Regions from separate parts of the Homo sapiens genome. Here region 1 is linked to region 2. The links are contacts of gene promoters, found by promoter capture Hi-C in blood cells and fetal thymus (Javierre and others, 2016). All regions are on one chromosome and are shown on one strand. The core of a region is centred on a gene start or on the middle of the fragment in contact, and the rest is flanking DNA. Distances in the headings are between cores, read along the strand shown.

Region 1 (6,087 bases), core at 2,505-5,004, 2.0 Mb before region 2:
ATCAGTATAAATATATAGTCTCACACATTAGGGGCAGGCGAATAGGTTTTTAAAATCTGAATTGTTTATACAGGTGCAGAACAAAGTCTTTCTTTAGAAAAGATTAATGGTGAGGAGAGCGCTAGATTTCTCTAAACAGTCACAAAAACTATACCCAGCCTCAACGCTGAGGAGGTCATGGCCAGTTTCTTTATTTCTTGAAGAAATGGTCTGACCCCACCAGTTCGGGCTTATTTTTCACAGCACTCGCCTTTCCCTCCCTGTCTTCTTTCTCTGTCTTCCCCTCCCTCCCTACTTCCCTCCCTTTCTCTTCTACTCCATCTCCTCACCCTCCCTCTGTTCGCTTTCAAGAAAGTCAGCTATTTTATTTTGTTTGTTTCATCATCTTTCATTTAACCTCCATTTCTTTCATTTTTGTGAAATTAAGTTATATTTTCACTTGTAACTCTGTTTTCAAGTTGCAGACTGGTAATGAAGGTTAGGAAATGTACCTTATATGCATTTTTTATAAGCATATAACTGCAGTTTGCTTTAACATGTTTGTAATATCTGGCATTTGGTCACCTCCTTCCACTTTCAAAGTGCTATTACTTTTTCTTCTCCTTGGATGATTACAACAGCTTCTCGAGCTGAACAGTGTAAGTATAACTCTCTCTTTTGAAAGCCCAGTGTTTTTCATGGTTTTGACAAGTGACATACTGAAATGAATAATACAGCCTTTATTTTTATCTTATAAACACACTGAAATCAATTCCTATTTGCTTATGCTTTACAAACTCTTAGATGTGAAACAGGTATAGACTGTTTGTGTGTACATCAATGGTCTTGAAATTCTTTAGTGACATTTAAAAAATATTCAATGGGGTGAGTAGGGCTTAAGTTGCATTATAAAACAAAATATTTAATAATTCTTTTAATATTACCTTTAATATTTCTTCATCCTGGCTTCCGTGCTTGCTGGATATATGACTTCTGGAATTTGCATTTTTTGAGCCCTAGTTTTCTAATCTATAAAATGGATTATCTCTCTGAGCGGAAGAGAAAGTATATGAGCAGTTGGCTAGGTCAGAGCCTGGTACATGGGAGAAGATCAGTAAATGCTAGTTAGTATTATGAATTGCCTTGCCCAATATCACACAGCTAGTAAAAGTTAGGGCAATGACCTGACCCAAGTTTTGTACTCCAGGGCCTATTCTGGGTTTCAGATAGTACCAGGGTCTTTCATTTGCTTTGACTACAGGCTGCTAGGGTCTGAAGTACATGGTCTCATCACATGACATTTTTCACAGGTCCCATGAGGGACTTCACTGAGGGAAAAATGGATGGGACGTCGTTAGAAATTTTCTTTTCGTCCCCCAAATTCTCTCACCCTAAAATTGCAGTGCTTTTCCAAGCCTTACTTTCCCTACTGGCATAAAGGATTAAGCCAGAAATCCTGCTGGTGGTGTGGTGTAGGTCAAAGGAGCATGCCCAGGTGGAACACAGATCAGTGCCTAACAGATTGAAACATTTAACAATGCAGGCTTGGTTTGTTTTTTAAAAAGGGAGCCATGAGATGGGATGATAATTACACATCATAGAAAAAAGGCCATTTGTTGCCACTTCCTTCCTCCAACAGCATATTAAGTAATGGGTGAGAAACTCTAGAACTGGGTAGGTCATGTGGACTTAGGACTCAGGAAGAGCAAAGGCTTCCTCTGTCCTCTGTGAAGGCCATGCCAAAACTATGTAGTGAGTAGGTACTTAAGAAACAGCAGTGGGACCAACCCACAGCCTCCTGTTGCCTGGAGGAATTGCCATACCTTCGGCCAATTGCCTATACTTTTGATCTAGGAAAATGAATAATCTAGATCAGCACTGGCCAATATGGAAGCCATTAGCCACATTAGGCTATTGAGCACTTGAAATGTGGCTATTCAGGTACTATAGTGTAAAATGCATAACCAGTATTGAAAACTTACTATGAATAAAAGAATATAAAAGCTCTCATTAATATTTTAAAATATAAATTTATGTCAATCTGTGAGGACATTTTGGATCTATTAGGTTAAATGAAATATATTACAAAAATTAATTTCACCATTTAAAATTATTATCATATGGTTACTAAAAATGTAGAATTAAATATACCGGTCCCATTATATTTCTATTGGACAACTCAGGGATTAATCTCATGGATTAACTATACCCCTATGGACTGAGTATCTACTGTTGGTTGTGGCAAGGTGTTGGTGAGACCCACTCTCACCCACTGGGAGGGCACATTCTTGTGGAAATAAGCTTCTCTGTATTATCCAGACTGCGTCTTACCACGTGTATTCAACCTCCTGTCTATAACACACCCCACCAGACACACACACGTGCTGGGAAAATGAACGCTCCTCCTCAGTGGTGTGTTAGTCACATGGAATGCTAGTCCCAGTGTGTGTTGGCCACGTGGCATGCTAGTCACATGGGGAGCCAGTCAGGTGGGGACAGGTCACGTGTAAGACCCAGGGTTAGGTCTGGATAACCCAAGGCCTGTCCCTTGTCTGCACAAAGCCTTGGGCTCTGCTCCAGGCTCAGGGCAGCCTCTGTCCTGGTGTTGTGCAGGATGCCACCACTCTTCAGACCAGGAAAGGAAGAAAACTCCCTTCACCCGGGCTCTACCAGCCATCAGGTTGGGCATCCATGGAAATAGTCAAAGCCTACATGTGGAGTCCTTTGTCATCCACAACACAAACAGGCCTCTGCTGCTGGTTTATTTATCTAAGGATTGCAGCAAGATTTTTTACCCTTCCCTCCGAAAGTCATGAGGCCTTAGCATGGAGAAGCCAGTGCCTGGATGGTTTGTGGAGGTTGAAGGTGGAAAAGCCAGGCTTAACAAATAAACAATGAAAAATGGGGCTGGGGGTAGGCTGGGGAGAGGGAAAGCGATAAGACTCAGCCTTTCAGGAGAAAAGAAAAACGCCCTCATTGATTGTCTTGACAACAAAAACTGTAGGCAGCTTCTGCAGGAAATTTTTTTTAAACAATATCTCTAGATTTTAGGGAGCAGGTGCTGAGGCTTAACTGTCCTGGGAACCCCAAGTTCCAACTGGAATGCTGTGTGTTTCCTGTAAATGACTTTGATTACTCAATTGGCCTAGTATAGAAGCCCAGCTTTCAGAAAGTGAAGGTGCTGTAGTGAAGTCTTCTGTAGGAGGCCTGTTTACATAATCCGTGGCCCTCCATGATGTTGGAGAATCCTGAAGGATGTTGGAGAATACTAACCCAGTCCTAGTCTGGGTTAGGAGTGTGGCTTGTAGGTCTGAAAATAATCTTATTTTGTAAACCCCTGGAACAGCCTTTCACTCTTATGCAGAAGCTAAGAAAGTTCTGTCTCAGGGGATTTTCTCCTTTTAAGTACTTGTGGTTTTATTGGCAATACCTGGAAATGTGAAAATACTCTGGTACCAAAACAGCCCTTGAAATTGTAGCACACAGCTCTGGTCTCCAGTGTGTGGTCCCAAGCCTACCTTGGTTTAATTGTGGAGTTAACCCGGGAGAGAAATATCATCCTGCCATGTGGCATGTACTGAAAAGAGCCCCTTTTGCTGTGGACATGAGGAGATCTCTGCATTTATCAGCTGAGAGGCCTCAGGCCACATACTTATACTCTTGTAGCTTGTTTCTCTGTGTATAACCCATGAAAGTTGCCAGAGTTAAATGAGATTGCCAGCATGCAGGCTCCTGTGGAAACTGTGGAGCATTGTAGAAGGTCAGTTATTACATTATTATGCCCATTCTCTCTCCTGTAGGAGCTCATGTTTTCCCTGTTCCCTCTCCCAGTAGCGGGCCTTGCTCAAAGTGCAACCCCCAGCCATGGCTCATCCCCTATAGAACACCAGCTAAATGCCTCCTGGTGCCAGAAGGAAGTTCTCATGTAATAGATACTTCCTGGTGTCACAGAACAAGGATTCTGTCCTCTTTGTCAACCAGTCCCTTAACCGACTCATCTATAAAAGAAGGGCCTAACTTATTTACGTATGACCTTTGTTTCCCTAGTCCCAAGCCCCTCTGACCTCCAATTCTAAAGTGAGCTCTAACAGATGATCAAAACAGGGAGGTATTTTAGGAAATATGCCCACTTCTCATAGTACTTTTTCCCCCTTTGGCTCATTTGTGCTACTCTGTCCAGTTAGCAGAAACAAACAAATAAACAAAAATAACCCAACTACATTCCTCTTCAGGTTTCAGTTTTAAAGGAGGAACCCTTGAGGATATTGGAAACAGAACTACTTAAGGTATTCTCATGCTTTGTTTCATCACTCCGTTCCTATTTCTTCTTACATTGCCACCTTTAAGCAACTTCCTCTAGGAAAGGGACCAACAAAATTAAAATAAGTAAGAGGAAAACAAAAAGATTAAATGGTAAACTTAATGAAGGCGGAGGCTGTGTCTTGTTCATAGGGATATCCCTAGTGTCTAGCAACTCATGAAAGGTACTACCTAAATATTTGATGGGCCAGGCCCAGTAGCTCATGCCTGTAATCCCAGCACTCTGGGATGACAAAGCAGGAGAATTGCTTAAGCCCAGGAGTTCAAGACCAGAGTGGGATATATAGTGAGGCCCCATTGCTACAAAAAATTTTTTAAACGTAGCCAGGCATGGGAGCACCACACGTAGCCCGAGCTACTCGGGAGACTGAGGTGTGAGTATTGCTTGAGTCTGGGAGGTCGAGACTGCAGTGAGCCATGATTGTAACACTGTACTACGTGCTGGTGACAGGGCGAGATACTCTCTCAAATTATTTTTTTTCCATTTAACAAAAATAAATATTTGATGATTGAAAACTCTCACCAACACATGAACACAAGCCCATCTGCACTCATAATTAACAGGAGACAGGTACTCAACCCATCATTTGTCCTTTATTTAACCAACTCAGTGTATTACTATGTGTTCTACCCACTGATAGCAGTTATAAGGACTCTTTTACATTTCTTATTAACTGAATGGACTTCTAAGGAATATTTCCTCTTATCAAATGGAGTATATATCTTTCTATTTATTATACACTGTGCTTGCCACAACGCCCAGAGGAAGTCTAAATAACTCAACAATTATATTTATTATAAACATCCCAGTAACATTCTTTTCTCTATATGAAAATGAAATAGTGCTTTTAGTACCATTTGCTACCATTTTTTTTCCTGATTGAAAAAATTCAGAATCTTCATAAAATTTCAGGGGATCACACACTTACAAAGCTTAGATTAAGGAGAGCAAAGGGCCAAGTTGTGGAGCCCTTAAAAGTGGTTAATGGTTTTAATAATTTAATGGTTAAGCAGAGAAGGGGAATTCAGAGAAAAAAGGCAGTAATCAGAGAGGCAAGAGGAAAACCAAGAGAGTAGTGTTACTGAAAGCAAGGGAGTCATTTCAGAAAGTCATGGGTGGGGACTTTCAGTTGAGATGGTCTGGTAAGACCACATTTTGAAGCGTCGCCTGTGCTCCAAACACATAGCAGTGAGAGCTAAAATGTGAAAAGAGAAAAACTAAAAATATTCAGCCATGTCCAAAAGCAAGGAAAATATCTCTTTAGACGAGGAGTGGACCAGAAAATGAATGTTAAGTAGGGATGAAACTCCTGCCAGGTCCAGGAGTTGAGTTTCTTTGCAGATGGGGAACAAAGTGGTCTCATAAATGGAGGGAGGCTGACTTGGATAACTGCTGAAATTAGGATGTGGGAGAGGGTAAGGAAGCAAAGGGAGTAAACCCAGCCTGGCCAGGATATTGGCTCCATGACTGGGTCAGTTCTGATTCATTTTTTATCTTCATGATATGTCACATATTCCTGCCTGTTTGCATGCCTGGTAACTTTTGGCTGGATGCCAGACACCATGAATTTTGCCCTTTGGGTACTGGGAATTTTTTGTATTCCACCAAATATTATTGATCTTTGTTCTCAGATGCAGTTGAGTTACTTGGAAATAATGATTTCTTTGGGTCTTTAAGATGTGTAGAAGGAACCAGAGCAGTGTTCCTTCTAGAGCTAATTGTCCCCCATTGCTGAGGCAAGACTCTTATAAGCACTCAACCTAATGCACTGGGAACATGAAATTTTC
Region 2 (6,193 bases), core at 2,923-5,422:
AGAATTACCAAAATTAAATGTAGATCTGTTTAACTCCTATCAATTTTAGGTATCACCACAAATATAACATTCTCTTAATGATGGTTTCTTAAGACTGGGCACATAGGCTCACGCCTGTAATGCCAGGATTTGGGGAGGCCAAGGCAGGTGACTGCTTGAGCCCAGGAGTTCCAGACCAGCCTGGGCAACATAGTGAAACCTGTCTCTACAAAATACAAAAACCTGTAGTCACAGCTACTCAGGAGGCTGAGATGGAAAAGATCACTTGAGCCCAGGGAGGTTGAAACTGCAGCAAGCCGAGACAGCGCCACTGCACTCCAGCCTGGGTGACACAGTGAGACCCTGTCTCCAAAAAAGAAAAGGTTTCTTAAAACATAATTTAACTGTAATCTTACTTGGTGATACATTACTTTTTTCTAGGAAGAAACAATAGGAAGGAAAAGAAAAAAAGAAAATGAGTAAAGAATGTCTCAAAGGGATCACATAAGTCTGAAAACCACTATCTTGAATTGTATATGGCAGAACTCTAGCAATATTAGGGAGTAGAGCGTCCCCAGCATTTACAGGTGTGCCAGAATATTGATCTCCCATCCCGGGAGTTTCATGAGGTGCTGCCTGCCAGGTGCTTCTAGCCTCCCAATCTCATCTACTTTAGTGTACTATTCAAAACTTACTTTCTATGTGGGCAGAACCTAAAAGATGGTTGAGACGCACTGACAGAATACATTAAAGCAGTTACTAGCTCAACTTTAAAATACATACTCTCCAATAAGAAATTCAAAGTCTACCCTTACTTGTTTTACTCATTACCAAGTAATGAAATCCCATGTTACATTTGTATAATATGGCATTTTAAAAAAAATACAGTTCCTCTTAGAGCTTAAGTAACTTCAGCAGCAGCAGCAACATCCTGGTGTGGGTTAGATAAATCTACTAAAAGCTTTTTGGGTTAAGGACATGGTCATTCCATGTTACAGCTTATTTTTTCCTAATCGAAATCCCCAAATGATCAATTTCCTAGTCTTCTTCCATGCTTTTTCTCCACTGCACTATCACCTTCTAATATAATAACACACTTGGCCGCGTGCAGTGGCTCACACCTGTAATCCTAGTACTTTGGGAGGCCGAGGCGAGTGGATCGCCTGAGGTCAGGAGTTCAAGACCAGCCTGGCCAACATGGCAAAACCCAGTCTCCACTAAAAACACAAAAAAAATTACCTGGGCGTGGTGGCCAGCGCCTGTAATCCCAGCTACTCAGGAGACTGAGTAGGAGAATTGCTAGAACCCTGGGAGCGGAGGTTGCAGTGAGCCAAGATGGCATCACTGCACTCCAGCCTGAGCAACACAGCGAGACTCCATCTCAACACAAAAAACAAGAACAAAACACAATTAACTTAAATATGCTGTTCTTATCTGTCTCTTCTTATGAGACTATTTATTATTAAATCCATGAGGGCAGAAATCTTGTCTGCTTTTGTTCATTGCTATAACCACAGCAACTAGATAAGTGTCTGACACATAGAGGTCCCCCAAAAGATAACTGGCTCAGTGAATAAACAAAGTTGATAATTTTATTGAAGATTTATGTATAATCTAGTTGTCTTAAAAGAGCCAAATGTTGCCATTAAGATAGTCAGGATATAAATTCTGTATAACAAAGATACAGAATAACCACACAGAAAGTAGGGTTGTCTTTCAAAAAGCTTGACATATATATTAAAATATTCTTAAAGATACTACCAGCAAATCTGCACTAGATATTTTAAAATACAAATAAAAAGGGAAAGACTTTTCAATAAATATAGGAAGCATCCGTTTTCCATTCCTCTAACCAGAAAACACAGAAGAATAGAGAGTGATAAGATTTCGATGGAACAAGGTGAAGGAAAAACTTAAAAGGGTGGTAAGAGTCTGAGATAGTAATACTTAGGGCACAGAAAAATGCACTATTGCACTGTCAATCAAGTATTTGTTTCCAATTCTTAAGACATCATGTAGGCCAGGCACGGTGGCTCACACCTGTAATCCCAGCACTTTGGGAGGCCAAGGCAGGCGGATCACCTGAGTTCGGGAGTTCAAGACCAGCCTGACCAACATGAAGAAACCCCGTCTCTACTGAAATACAAAATTAGCTGGGCGTGGTGGTTCATGCCTGTAATCCCAGCTACTCAGGAGGCTGAGGTGGGAGAATCGCTTGAACTCGGGAGGTGGAGGCTGCGGTGAGCCAAGATCGCCCCATTGCACTCCAGCCTGGGCAACAAGAGCGAAACTCCATCTCAAAAAAGAAAAAAGACACCATGTAAAGTTCAAGTTCAAGATTACCAACCTCTCTCTTACAAACAAATCTGCCTTTTCCAGATACTAAATCTAACGAGATGACACACTACGTTCTCTTGTCAAATACAAGTGTTGTGGATTTTAATCTTAATGTTTAGCCTCAAATAATGTTTTAATCTTAATACAGATAATAATCTTAAACTTGTCATAAAAAATGTTTTAATCTTAACACAGATAAAAATCTTTAAGTGGTAATGTAGCCTATTGCATCTACTGTTCAACTAGCATTCCACTGTTCCTTTTTTGGCCTCAAATGACGAAACTTCTCCAACGTCTCTGGGGAGACTAGTGTAAAGTATAATGTTTCCTGAAATTGTTCCTGTTTTTTCCCTGCACCATTCGTGATATCTCTTCAACTAGAAATGTTACATAAAACTTTTCTGTTCTGCAGGCAAGTCCAGAGGGAGAAGCAAGGTAAAGAGAATATTGTAAGGAAAACAGGTTGAAAGGGGAATAACATAAAAGCACAGGAGTAAATGTGAAGCAAAGCTATATTTGTACAAAAGAGGAAGAAGATGCAGAAAAGGGAAGAAAAACACTTTTAGCAGAGTAAAGAAAAAAAAATGGAGGAGGAACAGAGACTTGCTTCTTCCAGAAACAAAAGCAAAAAACACTTCTAAGAAAATGTGGTCTCTTTACCCAAGGGGATATTATGAAAACGCTAAAGGGTACTCAGCTGACACTCCTATTGAGCGTTCTACTTTCTCTTCCAATGCCTTTGATACCGCTAGTCTTCACCTGTGAATTAAATGCAGGCTACAGATAACGCACTCAATCCCTGCACAACTACAATTGTGGTTGCCATCTTTGCCTGGAAACAAAAAACAAAAAAACCCACAACTCCCTAGATTCGGGAAAAAGGAGTAAATTAAGTTGGAAAGCCAGAAAACCACGCCTTGCTAAGTCGGGGGGATATGGCACAGGTTAACAAACGCCTCCTACCAAACTAAGGTTCCACTAAAGGTCTGGGAATAAGGGCAAAGAGATGTATAGCCTTATCGCGACCGCAAGGGTGGGGCCTTGCAGTGGGAAACAAAATAGAAGGCAAGCTATCCCGAGAGGTTTAAGGGGGCTGAGGACTCGGCTCTCGGGAGATCGCCCATCAGGCGGTGGACACGGGGCAGCTTCGAGAGGAAGGAGACAGTGGACTGCTGGAGGAATGTCCGCGAGAATACCGAGGCTGATGGAAATAGAAGATACCCACGGGCACAGGATTAAGAGTCAAAGGGAAGAAGAGAGGGACGGGGCCGAGCAGTCTGGGGGGCCCGGCGTGGGAGGCCGGAGCAGAGGCCGCTAAGCGCCGTCCGCAGCCAGCCGCCTTCTCCGGAGACGCATTCTCGGCTCCCGCACACTCAGCCCCCCGCCGCCCCTGCCCCGGCAACAACCGCGGGCGCAGCTGTTTCCGTCGGGCCAGGGACAGCGGGGGTAAAGGCAACCCTGGGGCTGGCGGGCAGCAGACTGGCAGCGCCCGTGTGTGTGTGCGGGGAGCCGATTCTGAGACCGCCAACGCCAGACTTTGCCCTTTCTTCCCCAACCCTCCTTTATCACCCAACTTCCCGGCCGGCTGGTGTCCGCTTCGACCGACGGATACCGCACCCCCCACAACGCCTCTCGCCGCCTCTTACCCCTCCCCCGACGCCCTGAGCTGAGGGAAAACAGGCCACCCGGACCGATCCCGAACCCGCCCGGGTGTCCCCGAATCGCGGACGCCACCCCCGCCCGAACGCTGGCACTCTCTCGGCGGCTCCCTGGCCCGCCCAGATGCAGCAAACTCCTCTCACCTGCATTGACGCCATGATGGAACCATCCCCCCAAGACCGGCGAGGCCAGAGACGCAGGGGGAGGAGCTGCCGTGCTCGCGTCACGCCGCGGGGGCTCAACATCCCGGGCGCGGGGGCGGGGTCTGCGATGGGAAGGGGATGGAGCGAGGGGATTGGCTGGCGCGCAGGGCGGACGGGAGGAGGGGCTACGGGGCGGGGCGAGGGCGCGGTAAATGGCGCTCTGAGTACTTTCTGTCTCAGTCCGGCTGGCCGCTCACGCGTCGGGCCCCCATTTACTCTCGTTACTGAGGAGACACGGCTCCAGTTTTGACCCGACTACGGTTGTTTTCTTCGTGTGTACCGCGAAATGCTGATGACGTCCGGTTCCGCGCAGTTTTTTTCCTATTTCGTTTCCAACCACAGTTGTGCGGTTCACAGATTTTTCCCTTGGGATGTGTTTTCCATACCTCCAAGCCCACTCTCAGAGCCTTGGGGCCCCATAAAACTTCATGCGCAGCTGCTTTCTGGTATTTGCAGACCTGGAAGGCTTCTCGTATTCTTAATTTGGGGAAGAGAGACATAGGTTTCCTTGTACAACGGGATGAGGATTTAAGAGCAGAACGACACTGATATTTTAAAGGCGAGGGTATTTAGATTTGTGGAGCTGAAACTTGCCTGAAAAGGGAGACAAAATTTGGAAGTTTGTTGTGTGCAGTTTCTGCCCCTTACCCCCGCCCTTCACTTTTAAACTGCGCATATATCAACAATAGTTACGGTTGTTGCAGCAGTCTAAATTTGATTATCAGAATTGACCCTAGGCATGAATTTTTTTTTAAATATACCAATGTCGTGTTATATACACTTATACCATTATGTCCAGACTTCTCTTAAGCATAGTTCGTGGTGGGCAGTTTTGTGGTCATTTAGGGATGAACTTGGGTAGGGAAAGCTGAGCATACATAATTTATTTTAGGAATGCACCAGTTCTGCCAACATTTATCAGAAGTCACGTTTTTAAAAAGCTATTCTGGAACTGAAGATGTCATTGGTTTATAAGAGGAAAATGGAAGCCAAAAGCTTACACCTCATGCTCTATCTTTAAAAATTAAGGTGGCAGACACAATGAGTAGAAGGCTTTTATGTTACCAGAATGAAGGCTTAAAATCTGTCATTTTATTGACTCGGCTTTCTTTTTAGAAATTTCTTTAAGATATAAAAGCAATGTGGAATATCACTCTTTCACACTCTTAAAATAGATTACGTTCTCTGGAACTTCTCTAATCTGAAATGTGTTCAAAAAGGAAAAAGATCTTTAAAATACGCCAGTTAGTCTATGGTATAATATTAAACACTATTCATCACTAGAGAAGTTATGGTGGTATACCCTCCCCTTTCTCAGATGTCCACCTTAATGCCAGAAATGAGCGGAGTTTCCCTTTGTTGTGCAAAATGACTGTGTCCTTGAGGGATGTTTGGATGCTCTTGGTAAACCGGAATCAGCCAGAAGCATATCCGGTGTTAGCCTTGTTGTGTCATCAACATTACAACAGTGAGGAAACCCACATATTCCAATGAAAGAGGAAAACTTAAAGAAGAAGTTTCCAGTGTATTTTCTTTGAGATATATTTATTCCTATGACCTCAGAAGATCAGCTTTTACCGTCCAAGGTTCACTTTGCCTAAAAGCTGATTGTTCCTGTGGAAACAGTAGCATCGGATGACCCTACAAACAAAGCATTATGACATCATCAGAGCCAACAACCTGGCATGACAGATACTAATAAGGAAAAAAGAGGTTACAAGAATTCTGACACTCATCACAGTGGATCCAATATCTGGTCCCTTGGGTTTCATATATGTTAGAAGTATCTTCTCAGGAGGGAAAAGTCAATGCCAGTCATATCCTTTCTAGGTAATACTAAATAGCACATAATAACCTGTCTTCTTTTTTTTTTCTTTTTCTTTGAGACGGAGTCTCAGTCTCACCCAGGCTGGAGTGCAATGGCGCGATCTTGGCTCACTGCAACTTCTGCCTCCCAGGTTCAAGTGATTCGAGTAGGTGGGATTACAGGCGCACACCGCCACGCTCTGCTAATT

Evidence for each region. Contacts are between HindIII fragments. The CHiCAGO score rates a contact against its expected background, and 5 or more counts as called.
Region 1: a fragment that was not itself captured here is called in contact with the fragment with the promoter of UBE2W in region 2 in 1 of 17 cell types (M2 macrophages); the score reaches 5.3 in M2 macrophages.

The regions. Positions count from the first base shown.
Region 1 is chr8:71,846,302-71,852,388 of GRCh38, forward strand. The region is part of intron 2 of MSC-AS1 (MSC antisense RNA 1); the gene reads left to right. Among named protein-coding and RNA genes, the nearest start is that of MSC, 4.9 kb to the left of the region's middle. RefSeq lists an enhancer at 5,216-5,305. The HindIII fragment of the contact is 2,952 bases long and covers 2,279-5,230 here.
Region 2 is chr8:73,874,690-73,880,882 of GRCh38, forward strand. It overlaps UBE2W (ubiquitin conjugating enzyme E2 W), which reads right to left and starts at 4,173. Exons shown (of 6, transcript NM_018299.6): 1 at 4,119-4,173. The coding sequence starts at 4,133. LINC01617 (long intergenic non-protein coding RNA 1617) reads left to right here and starts at 4,293. Exons shown (of 3, transcript NR_147034.1): 1 at 4,293-6,008. RefSeq lists enhancers at 2,856-2,905, 3,382-4,259 and silencers at 3,646-3,905, 3,926-3,975, 4,116-4,405. The HindIII fragment of the contact is 3,471 bases long and covers 1,702-5,172 here.